4 separate regions of the Homo sapiens genome follow, and all the other regions are linked to region 2. The links are contacts of gene promoters, found by promoter capture Hi-C in human tissues and cell types (Jung and others, 2019). All regions are on one chromosome and are shown on one strand. Each heading gives the region's core, a stretch centred on a gene start or on the middle of the fragment in contact. The rest is flanking DNA. Distances are from core to core; before and after follow the strand shown.

Region 1 (6,917 bases), core at 2,671-5,170, 490 kb before region 2:
TTAACACAACTGCTGTCCCACTGCCTACTAGGGTTAATTAGGTTGACCAGCCTGGCTAGTGAGTATCTGCTTCTTCCATTTCTGCTTGTGGTTTCTCCTTTACTCATTGTGTATTTGGTGAAGAGGGCAGCTTCCCATATGGAGGGGGACCTTCAGTCTAGGCGATACTGGAAGTTCAGCTTCCACTAATACATAAATTCTGGTTTCATTGACCTAATATAATAAAGTTAAATCCACATATCTGGGTAAATATCTTTTTCTAAAAAAAAAAAAAAAAGTACTTGAATACCATATATTTTATTATTAAAATTTGAAAAGTAAATTAGGTAATTTAAAAAATTAAATAGTACTTTAAGGATAGTTTAATTAATTCTTATTATTTATGGAATTAATGTTTAATCCTTAATGTTTTTAAGGAATAAGCCAGTACCTTATAATTAGTACAGAACTACGGCAGGGGCATATATGTATTTAAATTGAGACCAGTGATTTAGTTTTTACTTTGACTTGCTATTCACTCCTTAGGGGAGACAAAACATTTAAATAATTAGCTGTAAAATAATTTAGTGTGCCGTCTTTCCTCGAGTAATTTATTTAAGCTGTATTAGCAGATTATGTGAAGAAGTAGACTTATCCTAAGCATCTTCAGAATAATATATTCTCTATAGTTTTGTCGTTTTTGAAGAAATTGACATTTCTTTCTGTATTAAAATCATCTGTGGGAAGAGCTTCTTGTTAAATATTTAGATTCCAGTGCTTGGCCCTAGACCTAACAACTAAAATTTTTGAAGCTTAACAAGCTGCATTTGTTGCTTAATATTTGAGAATCACTGCTCTGTAGCACAGAACCTTGTCAAAGAACTGATGTGTTCTAAATTTGCTTATTCAGTAGACATAAGTGCTAAAGCTCTTGGTTTTTTAATTCTGACTAGACAACTTGATGAGAGAGACAAAAGTTTGGAGGAGGATTTGTCTAATTAGTATGGATGTAAAAACTCATGCCTAAATCTTCAAAATAAAAAATTATGGTCACATTTATGTGATAGATGAATGCCTCTAAATTAGCAACAAACACAGAAAGAACTTGCTTGTTTTAGAGTATATTCCCTTTTGCTACTTTAAACACTGATTCTGCTGTGATTAGAATACATTTTCCTTTTTTATTTGATTGCCTTGCTGACTTCCTTCTCAGACTAACAACAATGATCATGCAGCCATGTCGGTAAGTAGATATAAACTAAAGCTAGCATGTACATTAGAAAATAATGAATTTCCTGCAGGCTTATTTTTCTCTGCTTAGGTATTTAAATTAAAGGCTAATTACTTTGGCAACATCCTTGATAAATTTTTAGTTTTGTGGAAACCTAAATTTGAAGGTAATATTAGTTGTTTGTGAAGCAGTCAAGATTCTCTGAGACTAGATTGTAAAAGCACTGCACTCACCTCAAATGCATCTTAATATTAAGGTGCATTTGGAAACTTCTCTGTGGTCTTTCCTCATCTGTAAAATGAGGTATGTGGCAACATATACCCTACAGATTTTTGTGAGCTTAAATGAAATAGTATACCTAAAATGTTTAGAAAAGTGCTTGGCATATAATAAATACTCAAAAAATATTAGTTGTTATCGTTACTTGTTTCAAAGATGGTTTATGCTTTTCCTGAATGCTTTTTCTCTACTACCCTGATCCCAAACTGCACTCGTAGAAGTCTAACCCAGTGCATGACCCAGTGTGATTCATGACCCAGTGCAGGTATTTCTTTCTCATCCCAGCCCAGTATTGGTCTTCTGAATTGCCTTAGCTCTTACCTTTTTTACGGCTTTATCGTATTTTGCTTTTTTTCCGTATTTGTCTTTTTCACCTTTACTTGTGAGCTCTTGACAGAATAAGAACTAACAAGTATTCTTTGAATGTATAAATATTGAAAATTCTTCTTAGGGAAAAACAAAATCTTATCTAGCATTTGAAATGCAAGTGTTCCTAACCTATATCCTCTTCTTTCTGTTCTTATTCCTGTTACTGAAGTTCAAGTTTTGATTAATGTAATTGTCTTCTAATTGGTCTCTACCAACAGTGTCTCCTTACTTCAGTCCATCCTATATACCAGTGCTAGATTATTCTTTCTGAAGCACAGTCTAATTTTATTTCCCTATTCAGAAACATCAGGGGTTCTTGATTATCTATTGAATTAAGTAGAAATTCCACAGGCTAGCAAAAAGAAAATTATCTCAGCCTCTTTCCACATATATTTCTGAGGCCGGACACGGTGGCTCATGCCTGTAATCCCAACATATTGGGAGGCCGAGGCAGGTGGATCACTTGAGGCCAGGAGTTCAAGATCACTGCTGACATGACAAAACCCCATCTCTACAAAAAATACACACACACACACACACACACACACACACACACACACACGCATTTCTGACCATTACTAAACATGTGCATCCAAACTGGCATATTCATTGTGTCTTGGATCTATCTTGGATTTTCTGTCTTAGCTTTATTTATAACTGTAAAAATCCTGGATCTCTTCCCAAAGACATTCTAATGCAACCTCTTTCACAAAGCCTTTGCTGATTCCACTTAACTGCATGTGGATACTTTGTCTTGCTTTTATGGTCCTGTTTTTATTTTATACTACTGCTGTTTGTAGACTTGCCTTCTTTTCCTTATTGTAGAACTTACACCTCTTATGTCAGGAACTACATCTATTCATCTTTGTATATTCGGTAATACTTAACACAGTGTCTTACACAAAGTAGTTGCTTGATAAGTGTTTTGTTAAGTATGAAAGAGTGAAGAAATGGACAACATGAAGGTCATTTTCTTGTTTGTATAAAGCGTATAAAAGTATACTGCCTAAAAAATCAATTTCCAAATTGAAATTTGTCAAATAGAGAATACTTTCTAGTTTTGAAGTGAAGGTGCAATCTATTATTCTCAGGCAGAAACTTGGAAAATATCTGTATGAGAGTTTAGTAAAGATGATACCAGTACTGATTAGAAATATTTGTATTTATACTTTACTCATTTCTTGCACACCTCAGTGAAGGAAAAATACAGTAACTAAAACCACAGCTCTCTAGACTCAACTGTAAATTTAGTAGTGATCAAAACAAAAGACCCTTTAGCACCAGAATAACTGTTGCAAATTCCCAACATTAAGGAGAAATACTTTGTCCTGTTGAAGACACAGACCCTTAGGCTTTCATTTGCCCTTTTTACTCACTCGATATAATAATCATTGAGTGCTTATTAAGCTTGCTAACAGACTTCCTGCTGATGAACCATATAATTCAACATACAGAAGTGATATTCAGAAGTAAAACTGACCGGCCATCCAAAAACTCAAATTGTTATTGTCAGTTTAAGGAGGCAGGGACAGATAATGGGATCAGTTTTAGATAAATTTGCATTAGAGATTTTGAAAGTTTGGCACTTGAATATCGAGTATTTTCAAAAAGTTCTTTATGTTGTAGTTATTTCTGTGGGAATCAAAGTGGTATTTCTATGACATATTTTGATATCCATTTTTATATTATATCCATTGTTATGAGTTAATTCCAGGTATACAAAAATCAACATGAACAAACCATTGACAATATAATATATCCCTGTATTGGAAAGAGTTAAAAAAACTTTGAGACAAAATATTTGAAAAATTTGGAAATAGTCAAGGTCCACTCTTTGAAATAGAATTTTTTTCTTATTAAGCTTTTTCTTAATGTTATAAAACAGTTGATTTTCACTACTAGATGTTAATTTTTTAAAATCTTGCTTCTTAGTTGAAAATGAACATATTTGTATTTCGTAACTTTAATCCTTTTAGACATTTACTAAGTTGTCTAAGTTAGCCAAGTTCTGGCTAATCTTGGTGAGAAATTTAATTTCATAAATTATAAGTCTTAAGTTTGTATATAGCATAGCATACTTAAATATTTTCCTGATGTCAAACATTGCAGAAAACAATATTTTGAATTGCCCTCGGTCAGGGCTTAGTTGGAAGTAGTAGTAATGAAAGGGCTTTTAAAAGGAAACAACACGAGAGTTTTAGTAGGAAGCCAGTGGATTAGGAAAGACCTATATAAAATGCAATTGAAGCTGTAGACCTTAATGAGAGTTACTTCATTCATGTTAACTAACAGAAGAAAGCAAAGCCACGTTGTGTTAGGAAGGTTGAGACTGTTTTTCTGTGTTTTTTTTCTATTTTAAGTTCCAGGGTACATGTGCAGGATGTGCAGGTTTGTTATATAAGTAAACATGTGCCATGGTGGTTTATTGCCCCTGTCAACCCATCACCTAGGTATTAAGCCCAGCATGCATTATCTGTTTATCCCAATGCTCTCCCTCCCCCAACCCCAGGGAGGTTGAGACTTTGACTGCACTCAGTCTCTGAGTCATTTTTTCCCCCATCATAACCCGTTTCACAGAACATGTTATTCAAATGTGTGCCTCAGCAAATGAAGTTCTGCTTGTACTAGACTCTGAGAGTCAATATCAAGAATTGAAACCTAAATACAAATTCATGAGTGACAAAGACCTACTTTGTGCTATCTTTTTGTGTATGGCTGTTTATAATAGTCTGCCACCTACATCTATGAAAGGGAAGCCAGTTTGCTTGAGTGACATTTGTCAACTTTACTAATTAATGATTATATGTAAACCACTTCTGTTGTCTAAACCATTAGTGATTCTGGCAACTTTTTTTTTTTTTTCCCAAGACAGAGTCTGGCCAGGTGTGGTGCCTCACACCTGTAATCCCAGCACTTTGGGAGGCCGAGGTGGGCGGATTATGAGGTCAGGAGTTTGAGACCAGCCTGGCCAATATGGTGACACCCCGTCTCTACCAAAAACACAAATATTAGCCGGGCATGGTCCCTCACGCCTGTAGTCACAGCTACTCGGGAGGCTGAGGCATAAGAATCGCTTGAACCTGGGAGGCGGAGGTTGCAGTGAGCCGAAATGGTGCCACTGCACTCCAGCCTGGGTGACAGAGTGAGACTCCATCTCAAAAAAAAAAAAAAAAAACAAAAGTTAGGGTGAGTTTGGCAATATCATGGGACTGCCATGGCAGAAGCAGTGATACTTGTAGAAAGCTAAAAATTTGGATACTGCATGCCTTCTAAGGCCATACTCAAAAGATTGTTTAACAAACAAAAAGACTGCCAAAGTTTGATAAGCCCTATGATTGGGATAGGGGAAGTTTTGAGGGAAGTAAAAATACGCCATGTATTATGCAGTCCTGTGGTTTTCCCAGTTCAGGAAAAAATTTTTCAACTTTAAGATGATCACGTTCTATTTCTCTCTCTCTCTCTCTCTCTCTCTCTCTGTATGTGTGTGTGTCTTAAGAGTAGACATTTCTGTTACTGTCTCATACCCTTATGATTGGTAATTGTTGGAAGGAGAACAACCTGAGAGGGGAGAATGGGAATTTATAGTTGACTGTGGGATTGTGGTAAACTGATGTGTCCCAATTCATTCTTTCAGGGCTGGAAGTAGTTAGAGATGGACAGAAATAGAGTATAAGAGGAATATAGAGTGTAAAGAGGTATTTGGGGGAATGTTGTGGGTGTTAAAATGAGTATATTTTGATCTATGAATTTTAGAGCATAATTTCAAAAATTTGTCTTCAGGTGGGCCGATCCCCTGGGGTCAGGAGTTCAAGACCAGCCTGGCCAACATGGTGAAACCCTGTCTCTACAAAAATACAAAAATTAGCCGGGCATGATGGCAGATGCCTGTAATCCCAGCTACTTGGGAGGCTGAGGCATGAGAATTGCTTGAACCTGGGAGGTGGAGGTTGCGTGAGCCGAGATCCTTCCATTGCTCTCCAGCCTGGGTGAAAGATCAAGACTCTGTCTCAAAAAAAAAAAAAAAAAAAAAAAAATTTGTCTTCAAGGTAGTATTAATGTTATTTGAACTCACTAAGGGAATTCATCTTGATATTTAAACCTTTATAACATATCTATTCTATATTATTGAGAATCAGACATTTCAGTGTTATGTACAGTGTTCAGCCAGAAAATGAATTAAAACTGATCTTACTAGGTACAGAAATTCTTGTGCATTTGTGAAATAATCTTGGGGAAAGTTTCATATTCTGTGTTTTAGGTATCTTTTTCCTGATTTCATAACAGTATTTACATTTGAACAAGATGTTCCATATAGTAAAACTCTAGATTAGTGGTTCTTATATAAAATGGAAGAGTAACAGATTTCTTGAATTAAAATACCTGTTTTTCAACTATACCTCTTTTTTAATATTTCAATTAACTATTTTTAATTTTTAATTTTAGTGTTTCCATCTGATGAAATACCTCATTCTTTCAGTATGTGTATTTTAAAATTTAAATTTAAAATTTAAAAGAGCTACAATTTATAACATTTTAAAATACACATACTCTTTAGGAGAGCTACAATTTATAACCTTTTAAAATACACATACTGAAATGAAATTAAATTCATTAATTTATGAATTTATTCATTCATTAATGAATTAAAAATTTAATTCATTAAAATACTTCCCTTCTTTTGCTTCTGAAAAAGACTGTTTCATATTCTCATAACTGAAATTTATGTAGCAAATGATGATAGTGAGTTTGTATAAAATGATAATATTTTACTGCGTTAATTTAGGTAACTTTAAAAAGCCATACAGAATCAGAATTAATGAAGTCACTTATCAGTGTTAGGTTTAATATCCAAATTGACCATGATTTTATTTCGTTTTTCCTTTTTTCTTTGACAAGAGTTAGACTTTTTAAACAAAACCTTTTATCAATGTAAAGAATAATATGTTGTACAATATATTTGAGTCTGTGTATTTCTTTTTACTTAAGTAAAAAAGTAGTTTATTGTACAAAGTTAACCTTTTGTGGGAATATAAATAAAGAAAAATGGACTCTCCTGGAA
Region 2 (6,316 bases), core at 1,153-3,652:
GATATATTTTTCATCATTTAAAATGTTTCATCAATGCATACAAACTCCAGACAAATAACAAGTCAGATTTCAATATAGTATTAACTCCAATTCCTCTATAATCTATAATACTTAAATAATTACATGATCGGACTGATCCAAATATATTTTAATGTCTTTATATGTCAATGATGAAGGATGTAAAATCTTCATATTATGTCTCTATTATGTAACTGCTTCAAGAAAACAAAAAATTAATAAAACCTAACACATGTAAATAAACTCTGACATAACGTGAGTCCATGATATTCACTAGCCAGATTTTCAAACCTCATTGTCCTTTAAGAGCCCAATTTTAAGCTGGGCGTGGTAGTTTACGCCTGTAATCCCAACACTTTGGGAAGCTGAGATGGGAAGAAAGTTTGAGCAAGGGAATTATAACCAGCCTGGGCAACATAGCAAGACCCAGTCTTATTCAAAAAAATTTTTTTAAATTTTTTTTAAATCCAATTTTTGCCCTTTAGATTTTTTTTTTAACCAACCAACAATTTGCCAGCTTTTTTTTTTTTTTTTTTTTTTTTTTGAGACGGAGTCTCACTCTGTTGCCCAGGTTGGAGTGCAGTAGCATGATCTCGGCTCACTGCAACCTCCTCCTCCTGGGTTGAAGCAATCCTCCTGCCTCAGCCTCCCGAGTAGCTGGGATTATAGGCATGTGCCACCATGCCCGGCTAATTTTTGTATTTTTAGTAGAGATGGGGTTTTGCCATGTTGGCCTGGCTGGTCTCGAACTCCTGCCCTCATGTGATCCACCCACCTCAGCCTCCCAAAGTTCTGGGATTACAGGCAGAAGTCACCACACCCAGCCAGCCAGCTTTGAGTTTCATTTCTTTCATTTTCTTGCTCATCCTCAGAGAGAGAGGTTTAAGAAGAGAAATAAAGGGGAAAAACGGGAAACAGAAAGGCGAAAGGTATAGATGCCTCAGGAACTGACAGGGAGTAGCAGTCAGGCTCCTGGAAGAAACGAGAAATGTAGCAAGGCATGGTCAGGAAACACATGTCTATCCATGCTCCCACTCTCTCTGCCTTTCCCTCTCTTTCCCATCCCTCTTGCCAAGAAGTGAGTTGGCAGTCTTACCAATGACAAACAAAATAGATAAAGCCTCCACACTGAGATTTAGAAACCCCACTTTAGCCAAAACTAAGTCACTTACATCAAATTGTACCATGACACCAAGCATTCCTGTCCCCTCCCCTGCAATGGCAATCAAGTGTCATAGAAAAATAGCCTTTTAAAATTACCATGAGCCTTTTATTTTTATTTATTTTTACACCCAGGCTGGAGTGCAGTGGCGTGATCACGGCTCACTGTAGCCTCAAACTCCTGGGCTCAAGCAATCCTCCTGCCTTGGCCTCCCAAAGTTGGCTCAGGGTTGAGGAGCCACTGTGCTCAGCCAACCATGAGGTTTTTAGAGATGATCTTGTCTAAACCCTTCTCGCCTGTTTTGCAGAAAAGAAAATTGAGATCCCAGAGAAATGAAGTAACTTGCCCAAGGTCATTCAGCAGGCAAGATAGAACTAGATCCCCAAATTGCAAACTAGCTGTCCAGAGTTCTTTCCTCAATGAGCAATTTAAAAGCTACAGAATGTACAAAAAAAGCTCCCCAACAGTTTAGATATAAAAACAATTACAAAGGCACAAAAGGGCAGGAAAACTCAATAAAACTATGAACTTCACCCATCCCACCTCCCAGAAACCCAGTGACAATCAAAGCAGCGTCAGGCTGGTTCAAGGAGTAATGGTGTCTCCAACAATTTAATTGCTCTTCTTCCTCCTTTACCCATTTCTCACAGGCAGAGAAAAAATGCATCTAAGACTACTGAAACTTACTTTGAACCAATACAGATGTTTGTTGATACCTGAAATTTAGTGATTCGCAAATACGTTTTCTGCCAAGAGCTTACAGAAATCACACTCTTAGAGCTAAAACATCAGGTCATTCCATGAGTCTCAAGCCCTGGAGAAAATTAAATGCCTTCCCCAGAAACGGGTCCTCTCCCCTGTCCTGCGCAGGTAACAAACGCTGCTGGAGAGACTTGGCTTCATCAGCTGTCTAAATGCAGACTTTTCAAGAAGGTGACTCAAGAAACTAACATTCCAAAACAGGACTTCAGAAAAAGAAGAAAACTTTTTCTTACCCTTAAAAATGACAGAAACAATAGGATCCGGCTTGCCAAATTTCGTTTTAGGGATATTGCTGGCAGATTCCACAATCACTCGCAGCATGGTTCTTAGCTGGTAGAAAGCAAGTTTCAGCAAACGAAGTGGAGACTAGGGCGCTGGAGCTCCGGGTCGCACCGCCCTGGGAGAGAAGTTCTCTCCCAGTGAAGGGAGGATTTCTCCCAGGGCAAGGAAGGGGAAAAGGCAAAATGGGTGGACCTCTGGCGGATTTTACTGAAGGCAACGTGTAAACTGATACCGAACTCCCCGCGTCTACGCAGTGCCGCAGGCACAGACTTATGAATTCGGGAAATGTGGAAGTGAAAAGGACAAACCCTAAACTAAAAATAATTCCGTGCGACAAATGAAACCAACATGAATTTGGAGCTAAGAAATACGGGTAGGTCAGGAAACCACTAAAATGTTGCTGCCTTTTAGCAATGGTTCGTGAAACTGAATTAATTGATTTTTCCGTCACTGCTTTCATTCTTTTCTGAGTTTCAAGGAGTTTTAAAACTTTAGTCATTATTTGCTTTTGACTTTTCGCTGTTACTTCTCACGCCATTGAACACACCCACTCAGTAACCCTATGTTCAGCTTTTTTAAAGCAGCTAAAGGGTGCCTCTTACTGGACGGCAAACGAATGACAGCGTTTATTTCAAGTAAACGCGATCCAGGCATGGGATATATAAATAATTACATATATGTATAAATAATTATATATATATATATATATATATATATATATATATATATATATATATATATATATATATAAAGGACTGAACATAGAATTTCTTCAAAACCCCTTCAGAGGTGAGAGCTGGGCGCCTAAGTTTTCCCGGCTCTTCAAATGCTGCCAATTGCCTTCAGTGAAAATGGAGAAGTGACTCCCCACTGTTTCTGGACCTACAGCTGCCCATGGTGTCTTTCTGTCCCAGAGGGTGCATGAAGACAGTGCAGCTTGGCTGAGATCACAAGAGGCGGCCTGGGGTTAGTCAGCCAGATCTGAGTGTGAGACTCTGCCTCACCACCCTGAGCTACGTCATCTTAGCAAGTTTCTTTTCTTTTCTTTTCTTTTCTTTTTTTTTTTTGACGGAGTCTCGCTCTGTCACCAGGCTGGAGTGCAGTGTAGCGATCTTGGCTCACTGCAACCTCTGCCTCCCGGGTTCAAGCGATTCTCCTGCCTCAGTCTCCCGAGTAGCTGGGACTACAGGCGTGCGCCACCACACGCAGCTAATTTTTTTTTTTTTTGTATTTTTAGTAGAGACGGGGTTTCACCATGCTGGCAAGGATGGTCTCGATCTCTTGACCTTGTGATCCGCCCGCCTCGGCCTCCGTGGCTTGAGCTTTACTGGCTTGAGCTTTACTGGCTTGAGCCACCGTGCTGGCGAGCAAGTTTCTTAACCCCTCTCTTCCTCAGTTTCCTCATCTATGAACTGGGGATAAAGGCTGTTATAAGATAAAGGTCATAGCATAGGAGCTGGCACAAAGCACACAGTAATTTGCACATGTAAGAAGTTCATGCTTATTTGTGGTCTCACAGCGTTTCTGTTAGTGCAGGCTGACTTTAAATCAGGATCTCGTTATATTTCAGAAGAAAAGGCTAAAACTTGGGATGAAGAAACATTGGGCTTCTTTTTGCTTTAGAACACACATCAAGCAGACCCACCTGTAAATAAACATTTCAAGTACATTGAATAAGCATGACTTAACCTACAAGAATTCTTCTGTCTCCACGAGTTTCTCCAAGGCTTAAAGCAAAGAACCAATTACCCAGTGCTGTGTTCATTATTGTATTTAGTGGACATGTTGGCAGTTTTAGTGGAATATAGAGATTATTACTTTTATTTTATCTGGCTGCTTTCTATTTGCCATTTTTACTGTGAAATATATTTACAGAAAAATGCATACTACATAAACGTGACAGTTTAACAAGCATCCAGGTCAAGACAGAACATTGCCAGTCCTCCAGAAGCCCCTGGAATACCCCATATATCATATCCACCTCCTTCTCCCAGAGGTAACCACTCTCCTGATTTTTTTTTCTTTTTTTAGATGGAGTTTCACTCTTGTTGCCCAGGCTGGATTGAAGTGGGGTGATCGGCTCACTGCCACCTCCACCTCCCGGGTTCAAGCAATTCTCCTGCCTCAGCCTCCCAGGTAGCTGGGATTACAGGCGTGCACTACCACACCCGGCTAATTTTGTATTTTTAGTAGAGACAGGGTTTCACCGTGTTGGCCAGGCTGGTCTCAAACTCCTGACCTCAGGTGATCCATCCACCTCGGCCTCCCAAAGTGCTGGGATTACAGGCATGAGCCACCATGCCTGGCCCACTCTCCTGATTTTTATGGTAATGATTTCCTTGCTTTTCTTTGTAGTTTTTACCGAAAACAACAACAACAAAACAGTTTAGGTTTGCTTGCTCATGACCTTTGTTTGGTGATATAAATTCTTTTGTATGTTATGAACTTTACATACAACACATATATTCATATATATAGGTACACACATACATGTGTTCATACTTTGTGAATTCTTTGCTGTATTATGACTTTATAGAAATGGACTCATACAGAATGGATTCTTTCGTGTTTGACTTCTTTTTTCTCAGTATTATATTGTGAAATTCATTCATGTAGCTCTACTTCCTTCACTCTTGTTGCTATATGGCATTTCATTGTATGAGTTTCTGACATTTTATTTATTTATTTATTTTGAGACAGAGTCTTGCTCTGTAGCCCAGGCTGGAGTGCAGTGGTGCGATCTCGTTTCACTGCAACCTCTGCCTCCCGGGTTCAAGCAATTCTCCTGCCTCAGCCTCCTGAGTAGCTGGGATTACAGGTGCACACCACCACGCCCGGCTAATTTTTGTATCTTTAGTAGAGATGGGGTGTCACCATGTTGGCCAGGATGTTCTCGAACTCTTTACCTCGTGATCCGCCTGCCTCAGCCTCCCAAAGTGCTGGGATTACAGGCATGAGCCACTGCGCCTGGCCTCCAGATTTGATTAATTCATTCTACTACTGCCAGACATTTGGACAGTTCAGGGAATGGGGCTATTACAAACAGTGCTGTTCTGAACAGTCCAAGACTGTTCTGGCACAAATGTGCATGAGTCTATTTAGAGTCTAATCTATGGGTGGAATTGCTTGCTGGGCCAGAGAATGTATGCATTTCTTCACCTTTACAAGGTAATTCCAAATTATATTCCACAATGGTACTCTTGCCAGCAGTGTATGAGACTTCCTGTTGTTCTAAATTTTTGTCATACTTAACCAATGTTAGATTTTTTACATTTGCCCTTCTGGTGAGCATATAATAGCATCTCACTGGAGTTTTAATTTGCCTTTTACCTATTCATGTGGGAGAAAAAGACAAATGACTTCCAACCTTACATAATACATAATCAATTACAGGTGGAGTATAAATCTAAATAAGCAAGATAAAACATGTTTCAGCCCAGACACAGTGGTTCATACCTGTAATCTCAACACTTTGGGGAGGCTGAGGTGAGTCTGAGACCAGCCTGGGCAACATAGTGAGACCCTGCCTCTAAAAAAAATTTTTTAAATTAATCGAGTGTGGTGGCATGCACCTGTGGTCCCAGCTACTTGAAAGGCTGAGGTGGGACAACCACTTGAGCCTGGGAAGTCCTGGTGGCAGTGAGCCATGATTGTGCCACTATACTCCAACCTGGGTAACAGAGTGAGACCCTGTCTCTAAAAAAAAAAAAAAAAAAATCTAACCAGGTGGTGGCAGCAGCTCACACCTGTAGTCCCAGCTACTTGGGAAGCTGAGGCAAGAGGATCACTTGAGGCCAGAAATAGAAATCCAGCCTAGACAACATGGCAAGACCTCCTCTCTAAAACAAATAAGTAAAGAAAAAAATCAAACAACAAAAAAAGCCATAGAAGAATATCTATATGACCCCAGGATAGGAAAGGATTTCTTAATATGAAAAAATGTACAAATCATAAAGGAAATATTGATAAATTCAATTATATTAAAATCACAACCTACAAAGGACTAGTATTCAGAGTACATAAACAGCTCCAGCAAATTAGTAAGACAAACACATAGAACTCAATGGAAAAATAGGTAAAAGATTTGAATAG
Region 3 (7,181 bases), core at 4,404-6,903, 370 kb before region 2:
CTCCTGCCTCAGCCTTGCGAGTAGCTGGGACCACAGGTGCCCGCCACAATGCCCGGCTAATTTTTTGTATTTTTAGTAGAGACAGGGTTTCACCGTGTTAGCCAGGATGGTCTCGATCTCCTGACCTTGTGATCCACCCGCCTCAACCTCCCAAAGTGCTGGGATTACAGGCATGAGCCACCGTGCCTGGCCAGTAATTTTTGTCTTTCAAGGAATTTGTCCATTTAACCTAAGTTTTCAAGTTTATTGGCATAAAGGTTTTTATAATAATTTCTTTTTATTCTTTTAGTATCTGTAGAGTTTGTGGTGATGTCACATCTCTCATTTATGTTAGTGGCAATTTGCGTATTTTCTCCTTTTTTCCTGATCAATCTGGCTAGAGGTTTATTTTCTCAAAAATTAGTTTTTCCTTTATTTTATGTTCTTTTTCTGTGTGGTTTTTTTTTTTTTTTTTTTTTTAGACAAAGTCTCGCCCTGTCGCCCAGGCTGGAGTGCAATGGTGCGATCTCAGCTTACTGCAACCTCCACCTCCCAGTTTCAAGTGATTCTCCTGCCTCAGTCTCCCGAGTAGCTGGGATTACAGGCGCATTGCCACCACACCTGGCTAACTTTTGTATTTTTAGTAGAGATGGGGTTTCTCCCTGTTGGCCAGGCTGGTCTTAAAACTCCTGACCTCAGGTGATCTGCCCACCTCAGCCTCCCAAAGTGCTGGGATTACAGGCATGAGCCACCGCTCCGGCCCCTTTTTCTGTGTGTGTGTTTTTTTTTAATTGATTTTTGATCTGCTCTTTATTCTTTTATTCTTTTTACTTTGGGTTTCATTTGGTCTTCTTTTCCTAGTTTCTTAAGGAGGAAAATTAAGTCATTAATTTGAGACATTTGCACTTTTCTAACTAGGTGTTTTAGTGCTATAAATTTCCTTCTAATGCTGCTTTAGCATGAAATTTGTGCTTCTTGAGCACAAAATTTGATATGGTGTTTTCATTTTCATTCTCTTTAAAATACTTTCTAATTTCCCTTTTGATTTCTTCTTTGACCCATAGGTTATTTCAAATGTATTATTTTGTTTCAAATACATGGAGAAATTTTCAGATATCTCCCTGCTACTGATACATAATTTCATAATTTAGTTCTATTGTGGTCAGAGAACACACTTTGTTTGACTTGAATCCTTCCAAATAAATTAAGACTTGTTTTATGGCTCAGCATATATTCTATCATAGTAAATATTCCATGTGCAGTTAAGTGCATTTTGCTGTTGTTGGGTGGAATGAATGATCTATAAATATGAATTATGTCAAGTTGGTTGACAGTGTTATTTGATTCATCTATATCCTTACTGATTTTCTGACTTGTTCTAGTGATTGTTTTTAAAAAGTGTGTTGAAATCTCCAACAATAATTGTGATTTTACTTCTCCTTTTCAATTCTATCAGTTTTTGCTTCATGTATTACAAAGCTATATTAATAGGTGCATAAACAAAATTAATTATGCCTTTTTGATGCTTTGACCCTTTTATCATTATGAAATAACCCTCTTTATCTCTGGTAATTTTTTTCTCTGAAACTTACTTTTCTACTTTGTCTGAAATTAATATAGCCACTCCACTTACTTTTGATTAGTGTTAGCATGGTATATTTTTTCCATGCTTATACTTTGAGCCTTATTTGTTCTTTACCTTTAAGGTTGGTTTCTTCTAGGCAGCATATTATTGCATTTTGCTTTTTTACCCAGTCTGGCAGTCTCTGCCTTTTAATAGGGATATTTAGACCATTTACATATAATGTGATTATTGATATGGATAGAGTTAAATCCACCATTTTGCTACTTATTTCACTTTATATTTTCGGTTTTTTGTTCCCCTTTTCCTCTTTTTGAAAACCTTTTGAATTAACTTTTATTATTCCATTTCATTTCAATAGTTGGCTTGTTGTAACTCTTGGTTTTGTTAGTTTGAATTTATGCAGTCTATCTTCACATGATATTATATCACTTCCTATGTAGTATAATAACCTTACAACAATATACCTCGGATTCATATTTTTACCTTTAGGCCTTTATGCTCCTGTTGCTATATATACATATATATATATATATATATATATATATATATAAACATTTTATTTGGTATAAGTATACACATTTAAACATGTTAGAAACCTCTTGATATGTTGTTATTTTTTAATTAAACCTGTCTATTATCAATATATGTATAGCATTTAGTACAATCTATAGTATACAGGATACCTCTCAGGCTTTGCCCAACTACCCTTTTCTTAAGTAGACTCTTCCTTCCATAACATCTTTTGTAATTAGCTATTATTTTAAAAATTTTGTCTTTCATCATTCCACCACTGGATCATGAACCGGGACAAGGTCAGTCTTGTTAACATATTTAAAACCTCATACGGGGCCTAACAAATAAATATTGTTGGATGTATGAAAGGTTATTTTCCAAAGCTTTTAATATTCACTTGATTTTTTTCTTACAGCAAAGCTGTGCCAGTTTACATTTTCACCAGCTTTGTGTGAATTGTTTACTTTTCACTTAATTGCCAATGATATTGAGTATGGTTGTGTTAAAGAAATTGTTCCATATTTTGAGGGTGTAAACTGATAATTTTAAAAACTTGTGCTCTTTGTCTTTTTTGAAGAGGGAATCTTTTACATTGTATAATTACTTCTATTTTTACATGTTTTCTGTTTATGTTCTTCATTCTTATTAATAAAAATAAAGATAGAATAAGGGTTAAAAAAAACAAACCCCAAAACTATTAATTATTTTTAAAGATATTTGCGTATTAAGAACAAATCTTATATAGCTAACATTGTTGGTGTTCTTTGTTCCTTTGTGTAGATACATAGTTATATCTGGTATCACTTACCTTCTGCCTGAACTTTTTTTTCCTGTGAATAAATTATGTTTCATGAAATCAAAGTGATAAAAAAAACATTTCAGCCTGGGCTCATTCTATCCAAGAAAAAGAGCGAGGAAACAGCTCGTAAAAAACAAGATAACGTAGGCTGTGCGTGGTGGCTCACACCTGTAATCCCAGCATTTTGGGAAGCCAAGGCGGGTGGATCACAAGATCAGGAGTTTGAGACCAGTCTGGCCAATATGGTGAAACCCCGTCTCTACTAAAAATACAAAAAAATTAGCTGGGCATGGTGGTGCACGCCTGTAATCCCAGCTACTCGGGAGGCAGAGGCAGGAGAATCACTTGAACCCAGGAGGTGGAGGTTACAGTGAGCCAAGATGGCGCCATTGCACTCCAGCCTGGGCAACAGAACGAGACTCTTTCTCATTAAAAAAAACAAAAAAAAAAAAACAAAAAAAAAAACAAAAAAACAAGATAATGTAATCAAATGACACTCATAAGACCCCACACCTCGTAATAGAAATACATAATATATGTACTAGAAAAATAACTCTTACCATTTATTCAATACGTAACATTTCCCAGGCACTGTGCTAGATGCTTTACAATTATGATTTCTAATTTTATTTTTATTTTTTGAGACGGAGTTTCATTCTTGTTGCCCAGGCTGGAGTGCAATGGCACGATCTCAGCTCACTGCAGCCTCCACCTCCCGAGTTCAAGCGATTCTCCTGGTTTAGACTCCTGAGTAGCTGGGATTACAGGCGTGTGCCACCATGCCAGGCTAATGTTTTGTATTTTTAGTAGAGACAAGGTTTCACCACGTTGGCCAGGCTGATCTTGAACTCCTGACCTCAGGTGATTCACCCACCTTGGCCTCCCAAAGTGCTGGGATTACAGGCATGAGCCACCATGCCCGGCCTGATTTCTAATTCTAAAAACCATTCTCAGGTAAATGATTAAAGCTTTTAAAAGTTTTGTGGTTTTTTCAAACAGAAGAAGAAAATGATGCTTATTAAAGTTGAATGACTCATCCAAGGCCATATAGCTGGTCAGCAGCAGAACTGGGGTTTGAACCCAAGTTTTTCTTCCTCACCATACAGAATTTACTGTATAGAAAAATAGCTGAATAAATTTCTCTTGTTATTTTAGCCAAATTTCATATGCAAAATCCCAGGAGTGGCCTACTATTCTGATGTGTCAATATCTATCTTTCATCATGTGAATAAACAACAGAGAAAATCCATTGTGCTCTTATGAGTTTGGAAAACAAAGTGTTATCACAGATATTCTTGTCCTCAGTTCCAATGATTTTGAACCTGTTATTCAGAACAAGAAGCCGCCTGATTCAAATACAAAACAAAACATTCTATTTAGTGCAAACACAAAGATCTGAAACTCCATTTTAAAGTCATTTCTGTACAGTAAGAATCCAGCCTGCATCTGTCAGTGGTAGAGAGAATAGTAAACAGAGGAGTCCCTGAAGAGGTCACAGTGTTGACAAAGTTCAACATGATAGTGGAGTCTGCACAAATACAGGGAACAAAGCTTGGCCCTTCCACACAGCTGTGAGGCCTTGACTTCGTTTTAAGTCAACGTCATTTCATGTCTCACATATTTCCCAGTGTCTGCATGATGAAATACCACAGTCACCAGGAGGTCCACTTTTCTGCAGTCTTGTGTAGATTTTCCTGCCACCCCAAAACCCAAGGAATGTCTGCCATGGAGCACACCACCACTGCCTGGTACTGAGAAGTCTTTTTGGTGATTCAACCCAGACCATATTTCAACAGATGGTTCCCATACGGGAAGGACTGACCTGCTCCAGGAAGAAGCTCTAGGCTTTATCCGCACTTTATACTTGGTATAGGGTACAAGGTAATCCAGAGTTGTGATGTGCAACTGAAACCTGTGGGTCTTAGTGAATTTTCCGAAGCAGGTTCCCAGCAACACCAGCTTGTCCCTGGAGATACTGGCAGCCAACTTCAGAATCTTCTCACTCACATAGCGTAGGTGCCGTCGGGCCTGTCAAGTGGCAGCAGATTCTCCCTGATGTATTTCATGGTCTTCTCAAACATTATATGGGCCTGCTCTTCAGCCAAGTCCACATTTTCCCGCTAGAATGGAACACCGGATCCTCATGCCCCATTGGCAGGGAAACCTGAACTTTTAAAAAAACCTTTCATGTAATGTGGGTCTGTTCTAATTAAGTCTTTCAGCTTTTGTCTGCCTAATAGTCTTTATTTTACTTTTGTTTTTGAAAGACATTTTTTACCAAGTAGAGAATTTTAGATTAATAGTTTTTTTTATTTCAGTATTTTAAAGATACTGCTCCACTGTCTTACTTTTTTCGATTGTTTCTAACAAGACATTTATTGCTGTCCCACCTCTGTTTCTCTGTACATAATGTGGGGTTTTTTTTCCCTCTGAATGCTTTTTAAGATTTTCTCTTTAACACTGGTTGGGAGCATTTTGATTATAATATACTTCCAAATTCCTTGTGCTTGGAGTTTGTTGAGCTCCTTGGATTTGTGGATTTATACTTTTCATCAAATTTTGTAAAATTTTAGCCAATAATTTTTTTTTTTTTTTTGAGACGGAGTCTCGCTCTGTCACCCAGGCTGGACTGCAGTGGCGCAATCTCGGCTCACTGCAAGCTCCACCTCCTGGGTTCATGCCATTCTCCTGCCTCAGCCTCCCAAGTAGCTGAGACTACAGACACCCACCACCACGCCCGGCTAATTTTCTGTATTTTTAGTAGAGACAGGGTTTCACCATGTTAGCCAGAGTGGTCTTGATATCCTGACCTCGTGAACCGCCTGCCTTGGCCTCCCACAAGTGCTGGGATTATAGGCTTGAGCCACCGCACCCGGCCGCCAATAATTCTCTTCAATTATTTTTTCCTTTCTCTCTTTCCTCTCCTTTGGGGACTGCTTGAAGTCATCTCATGGCTCACTGATGCTGTTTGCATTTTTAAAATTCTCTTTTCTTTGTTTCATTTTGGGTAGTTTTTATTGCTATCTATTTGAATTTACTATTTTCTTCTGCATGTCTCATCCGCTATTAATCCCATCCACAGTATTTTTTTTTCCTTTTTGTTTTTCTTGAGACGGAGTCTTGCTCTGTCACCCAGAGTGTAGTGCAATGGTGTGATCTCAGCTCACTGCAACCTCCATCTTCCAGGTTCAAGCTATCCTTCCACCTCAGCCTCCTGAGCAGCTGGGAGTACAGGCACGTGCCACCACGCCTGGCTGATTTTTGTTATTTTTAGTAGAGACAGGGTTTCACCATGTTGGCCAGGCTGGTCTCAAACTCCTGACCTCAAGTGATCCGCCAGCCTCAGCCTCCCAAAGTGCTAGGATTATAGGCATGAGCCACTGCACGCAGCCCACACTATTTGTCACCTCAGACATCGTAGTCTGCATCTGTAGAAGTTCAGTTTGCGTGTCTTCTCCCAGCCCTCTGGTATTATCTTCCTTGTCTCTGCTTAACTTTTCGAACACATAAAATATAGTTATAATAACTGTTACAATGTCTATCTCTGCTAATTCTGACATCTGCATTAGTTCTGGGTTGGTTTAAACTGGTAATTTTTCTCCTCATTTTGGATCACATTTTTTAGCTTCTTTATTTTACCTGGTAATTTTTAATTGGATGCCAGACATTCTGAGTTACATCTTGTTTTTTTGTTTAATAAGATATTTTATATTCCTATAGTTACTATATTCCTCTTACTGTCTGGGTCTTTCCAGACTCTTAGCTGTGTCTCCTCGATTGAGGGGTCTGCTGGATTCTGCTTGAATTACTCCTCCATGTGCTGTGGCCTGGAAACTCTTTCAAGTCCGTAAGCTGGGGCGGTCATAGGCTTCCCGTCATTTGTTCCTTATCACGCAGGGATCACTGTCCTTTGTTGCCTGTTACCAAGTGTCCTGGAAACGACCGTTTCATATATTTTGTCCATTCTTTTTGGTTGTTTCAGGCATGGAGGTAAATCTGGTTTCCATTACTCTTTCTTGGTTGGAAGTAGAAAGAAATCTCTTTTTATTGATGTGAAATTCAAATAGCATAAAAGTAACCATTGAAAAATGAACGATTCAGGGGCATTTAGTATATTCATAATGTGGTGCAAGCACCACCTCTGTCTAGTCCCCATTTTTATCACCCCAGAAGGAAACCTATTACCCCTCCCTCAGTCCTTGGCCTGTGCCTTCTCTATGGATTTAAATATTCTGGATATTTCATGTAAATAGGATCCTATGATATGTGATTTTTTGTGTCTGGCTTCTTTCACTTAACATAATG
Region 4 (6,945 bases), core at 4,027-6,526, 470 kb before region 2:
TTCTTTCTACATATTTAACAAAGTCATTAGCAAAATATTGAACAAAACCTGTTATTCATATCCTTAGATACAGAACATCAATATCCTGAGATACAGTACATCATCAAAATGTGGTCCCCAAATGAGCAGCAATAGCATCATGTGGGAGCTTGTTAGAAATGCAAATCTTGGGCCCCACCTGCTGAATTGGGAACTCTGGGGATGAGGCCCAGCAATTTGCTTGAATAGACCCTCCAGTTGATTCTGTTGCATGATAAAGTTTGAGAACCGCTGTATTACATGGACCTCTCCTTTGTATCTATTTAGGTCAATTATTCAGAACCTTATGGGTACCTTAAGATTTCTCAGCCAGTTGCTAATCCTCTGATTGAATCTAACTCACAGTTTGGCATCTTGCTCCATGTTATGAGCAGCTTCTGTCAGAAGCCTTGCTAGCATGAAGAGTTAATAACAGCAATTGAATTTTCCTTATCTACCAGTCTAATTACCCTTTCAAATAAGAAAATGACATTACTCGGATTCGTCATAAATCCGTATTGACTCATAGTGATCACTTTCTCTTGAAGACTCTCAGAAATCTTTACTTAATAGCCTGTGATTGGTTCTCAGGATTAACATAAAATCCTGCTAGTCTGTGATATGCTAGCAAGAGAGCCATAGTCCAAGGAAGTCCAGTAGCAAGGATCAGGAACTCAGATTGGAAATCATGAGCCACCAAAGAAATGCTGGGCAACTCAGAAAAGATGCTTAAATCATAAAATTTAAGCAATAAGAAGTGAGTTTCATTTACAAGATTGAAATATAAGCACCAACAATGGCCTTTATTCTGTGCTAGATTTTCCTTTTATTTGGTTTAATCAGAATCCAAATGTTTATTTTCCCATTCTTGTTACTCTGTGAAAAACATCATACATGTATTTCCTCAGCCTCAAAATGTCAATCTGCAGGTAGAAACAAATAGCACATCTAGATGTAGTGGGGGAGGTGGAAAGGTGGAAATAATTCAGTTACTGACAAATTATTCTATACCATCATTCAGCCATGTACTTTTTGTTTTTGTTCGTTTTATTTTTCTGATGATGAAGAAGAATTAGCATTGACCCATCTATGTGCTCATTTGTTTTTTGAAACAATGTGTTGGTGCTCTTTTTTTTGGTATTCCTTGTGACGGGTGACACACGTACCTGTGAGTTAAATTAGCTTGAGCTAAAATTTCAGTCTGTAATTATGAAACAGAACTTTTTCCCATGTTAAGTCAACTTCTTTATAGGAAGATTCATTTGTGCAAATGTTTAACGAGAACCTATTATATGTTTGTTATATACTGGGAAATCAAAGATAAACTTCAAAGATTTCATAGTCTGGCTGGGTACGAGACAGGTACATAACTGTAATAGAGCATAATTAATTGTTTATAGAATATGTATTATGTGTAGAGAGGGGGCAATTAATTCTGTATGCTGTGGGATTGAGAAGATTGACTATGACCGAAGTAAAATTTGAGCTGGGTAAAAAGTAAAAATTGAGATGGATAAGATTTCACCAAAAGCAGGGAAGGGCATTCTGAACAGAGGGAATGAGACAGACAAAAGCACTGTGATAAGACAATGTTTAGGGAATCTTCAAATAATCATATGTGGATGGACTACAAAATGGAGCTTTTTAATTAGGACCATGACATGATTAAATCTGTGTCATAGAATGTTAACTCTAGTGTCATTTAGAAATTTGTACTGGAATGAGGCAGAGACTGAAAGCAGGAAGACCTGTTAAAAGGCTGTTGAACTTTTCCATGTGAAATACAAAAAAAGCTTAACCTTCATCAGTGGGAATGGAGAGTATGGATTCCAGGCATTTTGGAGGAGGGAATACATAAAAAGAGTGAATGAGTAAAGGTACAATTTGATATGATTTAACCATCCAGGATGGATAGTTTAATTAAATTCAACATAGAAGATTTGAAATTGCAGGTATCTTACAGAGTGCTATGCTCATAATAAAAGGTCTACAGATGTTTGTTTATTGACTAAATTAACAAAGTAACAAATCAGGAACTCTCTGTAACCAACACTGGTCTCTTCTAGAGTTCTACCTTTGTTGTCAGAAAGTTAAGACCCAGCTGATACTGCTGTATTTCAACTCAAGACCATTTAACTCCTTGATCTAAACAAAACTAATCATTATTTCTTTCATAAAAATTCTTCACATATTTGATGACTGAAGAATGACCTTTTAACTTTATCTTTCTGAGCTAAGTAGTTATTTTTTAAAATGTTTCCTTGTAGGGTATTTTCACATGCCTTTTTGTAAATTTTCTTTGGATCTTTTCCTGTTTTTCTACTTTTTTAACCTATACTTGGTCAAAGTGGATACAATGTCTAAGTTCAGGAATATAGAATTATATGAACTTATATAGAACTTTTCTTTTTTAAATTGCTTTCAGATCAGTCTTAAGATGGTCTGAGTACATGTCAGGAAGTTGAGACCTTGCTTCCAGTCCTGGCTTTGCCTCTAACTTGAGCAAGTTGACTTGGACAAACCCTTCAACCATCAAGAGGCCTAAATTTTTCCCATAACACATGGAATTTGGAATTGATAAATGTTTCAAGATAACGTCCTGGTTCTAAGATTCAAAGGCAGTTAAATGTTAAGACATTGAAGAGTGTGGGGCTTTGAAGTCATATATTAATTATGTCTTCATATCTATTATGTGCATGGCATTGAGGGAATACAGTGGTAAGCAAAACAGAAAAGGTCTTTACCCTCTTGGAGTTTAAGTCCAGTGGGGAAACAGTAATTAATAACTTCATTAATAAATATGACTATAAATTGTTAAACTTTGTAAAAGTATATGGTATGAGAATACTAGGTAGGATCTATGTATGAATATAGAGGTTAACTTTTGGTTAATTTGACCATAACCATCATGCTAGTATAACTGCATGTTTGGAGACAGTCAGGAAGATAACCAGGAATACATACTTGGAAATTGCAAAAATAGCTCCCTCTGAAAGCTACATTGAACCTTTGATCTTAGTATAAATTTTATACAAGTTCAAGATAAATGTCTTCTTATTTGGAGGAGCATTTGCCAAGGTATGAGAATGATGTTCTGAATCAGTGTATGTACTTTGTTTTATATTTATTAAATACTTATTATATATTGGGTACCAATATAGATACCTTATAGATATAACCATATAGAAGAAAAGATTAATATGTCTTCTAAACAAGTTCTTACAAAGGTGTCACAGAAATTCTTCCTGTTACTAAGAAAATACAGACTATTTCCCAAGCATCAGGCAATCAGAAAGACCTATTCTATATTTGAAGTATCCAGAGTAGGTCTAGAATACATTTTTAAATTCATTCTGCCCAAATGTCTAAGTTAGGTTATTAGCTCCTAAGGGTTTAACATCTGAAATCTGTAGGTATTAGAAAAGGCATTAGAATAGCTCCAGATTAAAGAGTGCTGGCACCTATTTCAATGGTGAGTTATTGGAGAGTAGATAAGTTTCTTAATGTGAAAGCCTTGGTCTTTCTTAATTTTTGGATAAAAACTTAACCTGCTGGGCACAATGGCTCATGCCTGTAATCCCAGCACTTTGGGAGGCCACGACTGGAGAATCGCTTGAGCCCAGGGGTTCGAGACCAGCCTGGGCAAAATAGGGAGATTTCATCTCTGCAAAAAAAATTAAAATTACTCAGATGTGGTGGTGCACATGTGTAGTCCCAGCCACTCAGGAGGCTGAGGTGGGAGAATTGCTTGAGCCTGGAAGGTCAAGGCTGCAGTGAGCCGTGATCATGCCACTGTACTCCCGCCTGGGTGACAGAGTGAGACCCTGTCTCAAAAACAAAACAAAACAAGAAAGCTTAGCCAAAAAAGAAAAAAAAAAAGGATGCTGTTTATAGAGTTTTAGCGACTATGACCTCTAATTCTAGCCTTGAAAAAGGGCTGTGCCCCATAATAAAAGTATTAAGGCAAAATCATCTGGATGGTAAGAGAAGAATATTTCAGTGCCTTTTTAAAAAGTAAGCTGGATGCTGTTACACTGTTTGGATACCTGAATTTGTTCCTGGTTTGGATACCTGAATTTGATACCTAACCTATCTGATGGAGGATACTTTGCCCAGGTTTAATTCCAAGAAATGGAGAAAACTAGATACTACTTTATATAAAAATGAGGTGATGAAGGTAGAGTAACAGTTGGTCCTCGAGGTTTGCATCCCACTGTTGCTGACCGCATACAGCAGAAAATACATCTAAAAGCCAAGAATCCTAACTCTCCTGATTCCCAGGCATAAGTTCTTCACCACCAGAAAAACCACTAGATGGTGCTCTTAGTCATTCCTTCTAACGACACAGCTGGTTCACATGGGATACTTTGTTTGTCTAATAACAAAGTTTGTTAAACAAAACTTGAGTTCTTACTAGCTACTTTAATATTCAGATCTAGATAGAAATGAAATTACAAGAAGTATCTTCAAATAGAATGAATATTGGCATTCATATTCAGCCATTTATTTAGTTACAGAATTATTCCATTTTATATGCACCTGTGTGGTCATTTGCAAGCAAGATCTTAAAACTTTAGCTTAGCCTCCTCCCCTTTCTTTCAGTCTTTTGTCAAGCTTCTGATGTATTCCCTCTTATGACTCCATGGGCCCTTTTTCTCCCCCACCCTCTTTACCCCCTGACAATTCTTCCTACCCTGTATGGATGTTTTCTATATCTACATTGTAAACAATCTACATTCTCTGCCTTATGATAAAGATAACTGTCTGCCTAGAACAAGATTTTTCAAGGACTTCTGAGTTTAATTCCCTCTGAGTTTAATTTCAGAGTAGGTTTTATATTTTCCAGTCAAGATAAATACTTATGGCCTGACATCTTGGCAATTTTCCTTCCCCCCTCGTAACAAACCCTTTACATTTTGCATAGATCCTGAGGGGAAGGGCCTGTTTTCCTACTCAAAAATTTTTTTTTTTTTATATATACAAATAACTCATGTTTTGCCTACAGGTATTCTTTGTTCTCTTAAAACTTCATAGATTGCCGGCTGGGCGCAATGGCTCACATCTGTAATCCCAGCACTTTGGGAGGCCGAGGTGGGTGGATCACCTGAGGTCAGGCGTTCAAGACCAGCCTGGCCAACATGATGAAACCCCGTCTCTATTAAAAATACAAAAAAATTAGCTGGGTGTGGTGGCACATGCCTATAATCCCAGCTACTCTGGAGGCCGAGGCAGGAGAATTGCTTGAACCCGGGAGATGGAGGTTGCAGTGAGCCGAGATCACACCACTGCACTCCAGGCTGGACAGCAGAGCGAGACTCCGTCTCCAAAAACAAAACAAAAACCCAACTTCATCGATTGCCAATTTGGAAGATAGTTTTGTTATAATCACAGCTTACCCCGCATACATTATTTTTTGTTCCCACTTTCATCTAAATTGATTCAAACTAGTCTTCTTCCAAGTTAGGCTGATATAGCAGAGTTTTACTCTATTGTTATAATATACCTTCCCAATAAGATCAGACACCTCCTTCTCTAATCTAAGAATATTTGAAAACTTGGAATCAGGCCGGGTGCGGTGGCTCACGCCTGTAATTCAGCACTTTGGGAGGCCAAGGTGGGCGGATCACCTGAGGTCAGGAGTTTGAGACTAGCCTGGGCAGCATGGTGAAACCCCTTCTCTTCTAAAAATACAAAATTAGCAGGGCCTGGTGGTGCATGCCTGTAATCAAAGCTACTCAGGAGGCTGAGGCAGGAGAATCTCGCTTGAACCTGGGAGGTAGGGGTTGCATTGAGCCAAAATTGTGCCATTGCACTCCAGCCTGGGCAACAGAGTGAGACTCCATCTCAAAAAAAGAAAAGAAAAGAAAATTTGAAATCATTTATTATTGCAGAAAATAAGAGGAAATGAATATCCTGAAGTTATTTTGTTTATTAAAAAGGAAATAGTCAAATTGGAGGCATTAAGAGAAAAAAACAAAGATTTGGAATCTCTTAAAAAAGAACACTTCATAGTCTGGAAATGATTTTTACATATCTTATTGGGAAACCAGGATCAATGTGTGTTATTTAAAAATACCCTTAAAGGCATGGCTAAATGACAAAAACAAAGACACCATAATAGGGGGGGAAGTGGGCATTATTGTTTTTAAAATTTTAAAGATGGTCCAAGGGAGGAGAATTAGGAATCCCCAAAATATGACAAATTATATACAAAATGAGAATCTGAATGAGCCAAAAAGTAATTTGACGATAGTACTTCTAGAGATTTCAAAAATTAGTCATCAATTCTTTAAAAATTTAAAAGATTAAAATTGACCCCATGAATTATTGGGACCATAGACAATATTAGTAGAAATGATTTGTATTACTATTTATTCATTCAACACACATTTATTGACTGTTTCCTAGGTGACAGGTATGGTGTATGTAACTACTTCCCAGGAGCTTCTTGTTTAGTGGAAGAGCTCATGATTTAGTTTTAATTGAAGAAACTATTAGGAGTATTTTCACCCACCCTAAATTACTTTTATATAAATACACTAAGTGTATACAGTTATGTTCTTGATTTGCACTGTTAAATAAATACATATGGCTAGGAAATTTAAATTAAGCTGGATGCAGTGCCTCATACCTGTAATCTCAGCACTTCGAGAGGCCAGGGCAGGACGACTGCTTGAGGCCAGGAGTTTGAGACTGGCCTAGGCAACATAGTCCCCCTGTCTCTACAGAAAATAAAAAAAATAACCAGACATGATGGCACCTGTAGTCCCAGCTACTCAGGAGGCTGAGAGGGGAGGATTGCTTGAGCCCAGGAGGTTGAGGGAGGCTGCAGTGAGCTGTGATGGCACTCCAGTCTGGGCAACAGAGTGAGACCCTGTCGCAAAAAAAATTAACTAAAATAAAACCAAAAATTAAGTTTAGCATGGA

The links. The method cuts DNA at HindIII sites, captures the fragments that hold promoters and counts their contacts. A contact is called where the count stands out against the background at its distance.
Region 1: a fragment that was not itself captured here is called in contact with the fragment with the promoter of MYOF in region 2 in 1 of the 25 tissues and cell types used here (H1 embryonic stem cells).
Region 3: a contact is called between a fragment that was not itself captured here and the fragment with the promoter of MYOF in region 2, in 1 of the 25 tissues and cell types used here (H1 embryonic stem cells).
Region 4: a fragment that was not itself captured here is called in contact with the fragment with the promoter of MYOF in region 2 in 2 of the 25 tissues and cell types used here (lymphoblastoid cells and mesendoderm cells).

The regions. Positions count from the first base shown.
Region 1 is chr10:92,986,421-92,993,337 of GRCh38, forward strand. The region is part of intron 18 of EXOC6 (exocyst complex component 6); the gene reads left to right. Among named protein-coding and RNA genes, the nearest start is that of CYP26C1, 71 kb to the right of the region's middle. RefSeq lists an enhancer at 4,502-4,591. The HindIII fragment of the contact is 3,785 bases long and covers 2,029-5,813 here.
Region 2 is chr10:93,479,932-93,486,247 of GRCh38, forward strand. MYOF (myoferlin) reads right to left here and starts at 2,403. Exons shown (of 54, transcript NM_013451.4): 1 at 2,176-2,403. The coding sequence starts at 2,263. The HindIII fragment of the contact is 15,058 bases long and covers 1-6,316 here.
Region 3 is chr10:93,102,403-93,109,583 of GRCh38, forward strand. It overlaps the pseudogene NIP7P1. Among named protein-coding and RNA genes, the nearest start is that of CYP26A1, 32 kb to the left of the region's middle. RefSeq lists an enhancer at 4,290-4,584. The HindIII fragment of the contact is 5,003 bases long and covers 3,153-7,181 here.
Region 4 is chr10:93,002,311-93,009,255 of GRCh38, forward strand. The region is part of intron 19 of EXOC6 (exocyst complex component 6); the gene reads left to right. Among named protein-coding and RNA genes, the nearest start is that of CYP26C1, 55 kb to the right of the region's middle. The HindIII fragment of the contact is 4,871 bases long and covers 2,842-6,945 here.